Regions from separate parts of the Homo sapiens genome. Here region 1 is linked to region 2. The links are contacts of gene promoters, found by promoter capture Hi-C in human tissues and cell types (Jung and others, 2019). All regions are on one chromosome and are shown on one strand. The core of a region is centred on a gene start or on the middle of the fragment in contact, and the rest is flanking DNA. Distances in the headings are between cores, read along the strand shown.

Region 1 (3,907 bases), core at 1,115-3,614, 140 kb after region 2:
AAACATGTATGTGCACCCAAAGACAGGAATCAATATTCATAGCAGTTTTATTCATAATAGCCCTGAATTGGAATCAGATGTCCATCAACTATAAAATAGATAAATGTTGCAGCATCCATACAAGAAGCACTATACCCGTTACACATGCAAAAACACAAACAAATATCAGAAACCTACTGATAAGCAAAGAAGCCAAACATAAATGATCACGAGATTGTGTGATTCCATTTGTATGAAGTTTTTTAAAACCCTAGAATGACAAAGACAAACCAGCCTAACACAAATTGCTGCAAAACCTGAAAATGCTTCTTCACCGCCCATTTCAGTGTGGTTAGACCACTGATTCATCATCTCTGTTTCTTAGTAAAACTAAATGCTTATTTATGTCAATGTAACATCTTATTTCAAGTGGCACTTCCTCTCTGATGCACCTGTGGGCTGCGGTAAAATCTCATGCGTGCTCTGTTGGGGCATTTTTGTTTTGTATATCAATTGTCAGTAAATTACTTACTTATTGACATACTAGAAAATCAGCTCCCTGAAGGGAGGACATCATTTTTAATCTCAACTTCCAGTTTCAGGGAAAGCAATATAGTTTAACCATTGTATTTATAGGCTTTGGTGTCAAGTAATCTGGTTTCAAATTTCTGCTCAACTCCTATCCTTCTGTGTGACTTTGAGTGAAGTACCTTGTTTTCCTCATCAGCACTTAAATGGGATAATAAAGGTGCCTAGCTCCTACAGTTGTGATACCAGAAGACTTAAATGAGCCAATACCTGACACACACAATGTTCTTAGTAAATGTTAGCTTTTAGCTAATCAAATCATCAAACTGTATTTATAAGTTTAGTGTAAATTAAGATTGCTACTTTCATATGAATATTTCCACATAAATTAACACATTCAATATAAATCTTATAAATTTTGTATGAAATTTCATAAAAATTAATCTATTAATACAAATCTAACCCGATGTTTCTCTGAATGGAAACTTTTTGGCATGTATATATCAAGTGGCCTTGAAAACTCATTGATTAATATTCTAAATTAGGTTGCTCTTTAAGAAAACTCAATAAAACATTAAAAGTAATATATCTGATTTTTTTTCTCATAGATGTGAAGTTTTTTTGTTTTAATTCTCAAACTAACAAAGGCTACCTAAAAATTCAATAGGGTACTTTCAGGTACATTTGTAATATTCAACAGATGTATTTGTTTCTGCTTTCTCTAAAGTCTCAGTAAAAATTATATTAATAAAAACATTTAATAGAATAAAAAATGATTGGGAGCAACTAGGCATAGATGAGAAATGTCTACAAAGTTTGGACTATGTTCAGTAACTTAGGCCATAGTTCCCTGGACGCTAAAGCATCAGAGACCCTATGCACCACAGACTCTATGGTGGCTCCCATCATCCCCGTGTTCTGGTCTTCAAGCTCTTGTGTGATCTCCTCTCTTTGAATGTGGATAGGACTTGTGATTTGCCTCTAATCAATACAATACAGCAAAGGTAATGGTATATGCATGATTACATGAATGGAATGGAATGTGCCTAAGATTATAATAACTGTCTGCCAGAGGGGACTCTTTTCATGGCTGGCTTTGAGAAAGCAAGGTGCCATGTCGGGAAAGTCCTTACAGCAAGAAACTGAGGGCTACCTCTGGCTAGTAGCCATCAAGAAACTCAGGCCCTCAGTTGATGGCCCACAAGGAAGTGAATGCTGCCAGCAACCATGTGAGCCTAGAAGCAGATCCTTCCCCAGATGAGCCTCAGAGGAGATGAGAGCCACAGCCAACACCTTCACTGCAGCCTTGTGAGTCTCTGAAGCGTAGCACCTACCCAAGCCATGCCTACACTCCTGGCATACAGAAATTATGAGATAACAAATGTGCATTGTTTTAAACCACAAAGCTTAAGGTAATTTGTTATTTAGCAATAAAAAACTAATACCGTATGGGTTCAATATGGGGGAAAACTGGGGAATTAGTAGAAAATATATACAAGGAGCCCCTTGAACAACCAAACGGCAACCCTGTATGTCTACTGAAGATTGGAAGTTTATTGCCTGGCATTACTGAACCAAAAGGAGCCTGAATTCAGAGTAAGAGTCTCTAGGCAAGGCTAAGGGAGGACGTGCTTTACTAAAGACAGAGGAATTAATTGAAATTCTGAATAACAGACTTGCTTTTGAGAGGTGACAGCGTGCTGGCAGTCGTCACAGCCCTCGCTCGCTCTCGGCGCCTCCTCTGCCGGGGCTCCCACTTTGGTGGCACTTGAGGAGCACTTCAGCCCACCGCTGCACTGTGGGAGCCCCTTGCTGGGCTGGCCAAGGCCGGAGCCGGCTCCCTCAGCTTGCAGGGAGGTGTGGGAGGGAGGGGCGCGGGCGGGAACCGGGGCTGCGCGCGGCGCTTGCGGGCCAGCTGGAGTTCCGGGTAGGCGTGGGCTTGGCGGGCTCCGCACTCGGAGCAGCCGGCAGGCCCTGCCGGCCCGGGGCAATGAGGGGCTTAGCACCCGGGCCAGCGGCTGCGGAGGGTGTACTGGGCCCCCCAGCAGTGCCAGCCCACCGGCGCTGCGCTCGATTTCTCGCCGGGCCTTAGCTGCCTTCCCGCGGGGCAGGGCTCGGGACCTGCAGCCCGCCATGCCTGAGCCTCCCACCCTCTCCGTGGGCTCCTGTGCGGCCGGAGCCTCCCCGATGAGCGCCGCCCCCTGCTTCACGGCGCCCAGTCCCATCGACCACTGAGGACGACTCGCTGAGGAGTGCGGGCGCAGAGCATGGGACTGGCAGGCAGCTCTACCTGCAGCCCCGGTGTGGGATCCACCGGGTGAAGCCAGCTGGGCTCCTGAGTCTGGTGGGGACGTGGAGAACCTTTATGTCTAGCTCAGGGATTGTAAATACACCAATAGGCACTCTGTATCTAGCTCAGGGTTTGTGAATGCACCAATCGACACTCTGTATCTAGCTACTCTGGTGGGGCCTTGGAGAACGTTTGTGTGGACACTCCGTATCTAGCTAATCTGGTGGGGATGTGGAGAACCTTTGTGTCTAGCTCAGGGATTGTAAACGCACCAATCAGCACCCTGTCAAAACAGACCACTGGGCTCTACCAATCAGCAGGATGTGGGTGGGGGCCAGATAAGAGAATAAAAGCAGGCTGCCCAAGCCAGCAGTGGCAGCCCGCTCGGTCACGCTGTGGAAGCTTTGTTCTTCTGTTCTGTGCAATAAATCTTGCTACCGCTCACTCTTTGGGTCCGCACTGCTTATGTGAGCTGTAACACTCACCGCGAACATCTGCAGCTTCACTCCTGAAGCCAGCGAGACCAGGAGCCCACCGGGAGGAACTAACAACTCCAGACGCGCTGCCTTAGGAGCTGTAACACTCACCTTGAGGTTCTGCAGCTTCACTCCTGAGCCAGCGAGACCCCGAACCCACCAGAAGAAAGAAACTCCGAACACATCCGAACGCCAGAAGGAACAAACTCCAGAGGCGCCACCTTAACAGCTGTAACACTCACTGCGAGGGTCCACGGCTTCGTTCTTGAAGTCAGTGAGACCAAGAACCCACCAAGTCCGGACACAGTTTGACATCTCCTAATTGACTTCAATATCCTCGACAATCAGGCTTAAGGCACCCAAGAAGAAAATTGGAGAATTTCTCTTTGAAAAAACTGACCTGCTTCATAATAAAGACCTACAAATATTGAGATTAAGAAGAAATAAATAACTTCTGCCTGAACATCCAGTGATGTCCACTGATCCCAGACACAGAAATTCCCTTCGCTTATTTAGTACCTCAGTCTTGCATGCTGTTAGACACTTAAGGACTACTAGATATTTAGAAAAGTCTCCAATAAAAGTAAGAGATCAGGCCGGGCCCGATGGCTCACACCTGAATCCCAGCACTTTG
Region 2 (3,627 bases), core at 960-3,459:
TCTTCCCTGTAGATATTTCTGCTGTTCAAGCAAATATGGAAAGACTTCTACTTAATTGAAAATCGTCAAAATACATTTCTGCAATTTTATGAGAAAATATCAATCAAGGGTATATGGATCTGTAGTTAACAAGTGCTCTTTCCATACATGCCAGGGAGGGAGACTTTAAACTTCTTGCCAAATAAGATTTATAAAAAACTGAACAATAGACCAAAAATTAATATTTTCATGTAAGCCATGATTTACATACTATATCAAGCCAGGTGAACAGAGAGCTGAGTACATGAAGTGCAGTATGCTGGCCTATCCTAGCACTGCTTGGCTAGATGCCATTGGCTTACACAGGGCTATATGAAGAAATTGTCTTACAAAATCTGCTGGTGCTACTATTGCAAGAACACTAATTGTATTATTTTATGTGCTTCATGAGAACTCAGGAAAATATTTTTTCTGATTTAGGATCAAGATTAATTATATCAATCTTAAGGAATAGGTGTAACTTTATCTTATACACAATGTGAACTGAACAACTGGTAAGAATTCCCTTAGGTCAGTAATAACAAGGAAGCTTGGAAGCAAATGTATAGCAAGCACAAACATGCCTACAGTAATTTTTCTGGCCCAATTTATTTTCCCAGCCCTATCCTTCCTTCATTCATAATTTAAATGGATATTATCTTATATTTTATGTATCAATACTCAGATTTTAAGTCTCTGTACACATTTGTATATTAAAAAGTAGTTTATAGATTAAAAAATAGTAAATTTAGTTTAACATCCACATAAAAGCATCATCAGGTAGATTTTTCTTATTATATATCAAAGTATTGAGATTTAAGAAGGCTAAAAGCTTCTGCCCAGAGCCATACATTTAGTCTGTGGGCTTTAGGGTCTGAATAATTTTTTTTGTTTTTTTATATATGGAGTCTTGCTCTGTCACTCAGGCTGGAGTGCAGTGGCATGATCTCAGCTGACTGCAACCTCCGTCTCCCGGGTTCAAGCGATTCTCCTGCCTCAGCCTCCCAAGTAGTTGGGATTACAGGCACACGCCACCATACCCAGCTAATTTTTTTTGTATTTTTAGTAGAGACGGGGTTTCACCATGTTGGCCAGGCTGGTCTCGAATTCCTGACCTCAGGTGACCCGCCCACCTCTGCATCCCAAAGTGCTGGGATTACAGGCATGAGCCACCGTGCCTGGTCTGCCTCAGTCAATTTAACACCAATGGTACTAGTTTTTGCTGCATGGAAGTAAGTTACTATTGAAAAAGTAAACATTTGTTTCATGATATTGAAACACAAAAAAGATCTGAGTCTTCAGATAATAACAAAAGTGTCATTTTGTGGGGGCAGGGGGTGCAGGGGAAGTTTGCATTTGCTAGATATAAAATGAGATTGTACACGAGAATGTTCAATACATATGGCAGAACTGCCACTGCGACTGGTAATTCTGAATTTCTGGCCTATGTCATCTTAACTTAGGTCTTGGCTATTTCAACAAGATTGTTTTCAAAATTCCTGAAAAAGCAAACAAAGCCAACCACAGAGCAGCCCTAAGGAGCAAAGATTAATGTTTTTTTGTTTTTTTTTCTCTCTTCTCGCATTCCCAGTAGATTGTTCTACCAATCCTATAGGGCTTTTACGAAGATTAAAAATATTATATATGTATAAGCATAAATATATATATAAGCATATATATACGCTTTAAGTTTATATAAACTTTAAGTTTTGTAGGAGGAAGTTTCTGTAAAAACACAATTTTTCAGCCTTTTCTTCGAAAGTGATGTTCTTATGCTACAACACACAGGATTACACATCGTCATATTCGCATTTCTCTTACCTCATGGCTCTGAAAATGCAGACTTTTTATTGTTGATGCTTTCATGAATCTAAATAATCTAACAGACAATTTATGACCATTTTTATATTCCTTATTATGATCAATGTTAAGATGTTAAAAATATTCTAAGATAATTCTCTTCCTAGAAGAATAATGAAATTTTAAATGCGGTGATGGGGAGCAGTATTCCTACCTTTAGATTTCTGCTTCGATTTACAACGATTCTTGAAACTCAGCGTCATATACCCATCTTCATTCTCCATCTCTTCAAATGTCTAATGTCTTATTATCCAGAAAATAGTACAAAGAAAATGGAAACTAATCTCAACCTTGGATATGTCTCTTTGGCACAAGGTACTAAAAGAAAACTAAAAGGAAGGCCAAAAATAGTCAAAATTTACTCAGACACAGATGTCTAAAACCACACAGGATGTGTTGGTAAATGAAAATGGATATAAGCTTGTTAATATCTGGCTACAATTCTGTGAATTTCAAGGTAAAGGTAGCTAGTGTGTTCCACTGTTTTCAACAAATGGACTTGTGTGTTCCTGCCACTTGTGTGCGGTGTATTAGAAACATAATTCCTTCCTTCATGTCTTTTATAATAAAGTAAGAGAAAAAATAAAATAAAACAAATAATCTCTAAACAAACAGAACAAATGTCTAGGTAAATAAAAATTCAAATTAAAAAAGTTAAAATAGCAATTTTGTTATTTGGGACATATTTGACTAGTAGAGTCCAAATAACGATGGTTAGATGGGACAAAAATAGGAAAATAAAAGATCAGCAAGTCTCAAGTTAGTGAAAATCGGAATCACTTGCAAAGAATTTAACTTTTTAAACTTTTTTGTTTGTTTGTTTGTTTTTCAGAAAACGCCAGGCAGATTTTCCTTCAGTAGGTGTGGCAGTTTATTTTGTGTCAACTTGGCTGAGTCACAGAGAGTCCAGATAGTTGATCAGACATCATTCTGCTTATTTCTGTGAGGGTGTTTTTGGATGGGATTCATATTTAAATAGGTGACCTTTGAGTAAGGCAGATTTGCCTCCTCTGTAATGTGACTGGGCCTTATTGAGTCAGTTGGAGCCTTGAATAGAACAAAAAGACTTGTCTTCCCTGAGTGAGAGAGAATTCTCCAGCAATGGCCTTCAGACTATCTGCAGCATTAGCTCCTCCTGATTCTACAGACGGTGGACTTTGCATTTGAATTGAGCCTTCCTAGGTACCCAGTCTGTCCATGCTCATTTGCAGAATTTTGACTTACCAGCCTCCATAATCACATTCCTTATTTTATATATATTTCACTTAACACGCACACACACACACACACACACACACATGCTAATGGTTCTGTTTCTGCTACGTGGCCACTCAATATCAATCCATTGATTTAACACCGAGTGTCTGGGGAAGGTGGCTGACTGTTTCCCACAGCACATGTTGTGTTCACCTGATTATTGAGTCTCCTCCTCAACACTGGATGTCACTTGTGAGTATTTACATGGGAATGAATATTTACACACGCCGCGTCCATTCTGCATGATCTCTATATGTACCTCTTAGCTTCTCATTCATTTTTCTATTTTGTTCTTTTTGAGTTTCCGACAAGTCATCTCACCTATTAGTTTCTGATAAGATGATTTAGATGTATTTCTCTGAGTGCTTATCCTTCCTGTTAGGTTCACAACCAGACATATTGTCCAAACTTCTGTTCAGTGGGAAGACTTACCTTCACTTCTGTCTTTCACAGTCTTCTCCTGAATGGGACTGTAGTGTGGCATCTATTCCA

What was found. Contacts are between HindIII fragments. The study calls those that stand out against the background at their distance.
Region 1: a fragment that was not itself captured here is called in contact with the fragment with the promoter of KLRF2 in region 2 in 1 of the 25 tissues and cell types used here (spleen).

What each region holds. Positions count from the first base shown.
Region 1 is chr12:9,738,426-9,742,332 of GRCh38, reverse strand. No RefSeq gene overlaps it. Among named protein-coding and RNA genes, the nearest start is that of CLECL1, 7.3 kb to the right of the region's middle. RefSeq lists a cis regulatory region at 1,642-1,894. The HindIII fragment of the contact is 3,083 bases long and covers 823-3,905 here.
Region 2 is chr12:9,880,071-9,883,697 of GRCh38, reverse strand. KLRF2 (killer cell lectin like receptor F2) reads right to left here and starts at 2,209. Exons shown (of 6, transcript NM_001190765.1): 1 at 2,033-2,209. The coding sequence starts at 2,102. It also overlaps a transcript of CLEC2A not described here. The HindIII fragment of the contact is 4,749 bases long and covers 1-3,627 here.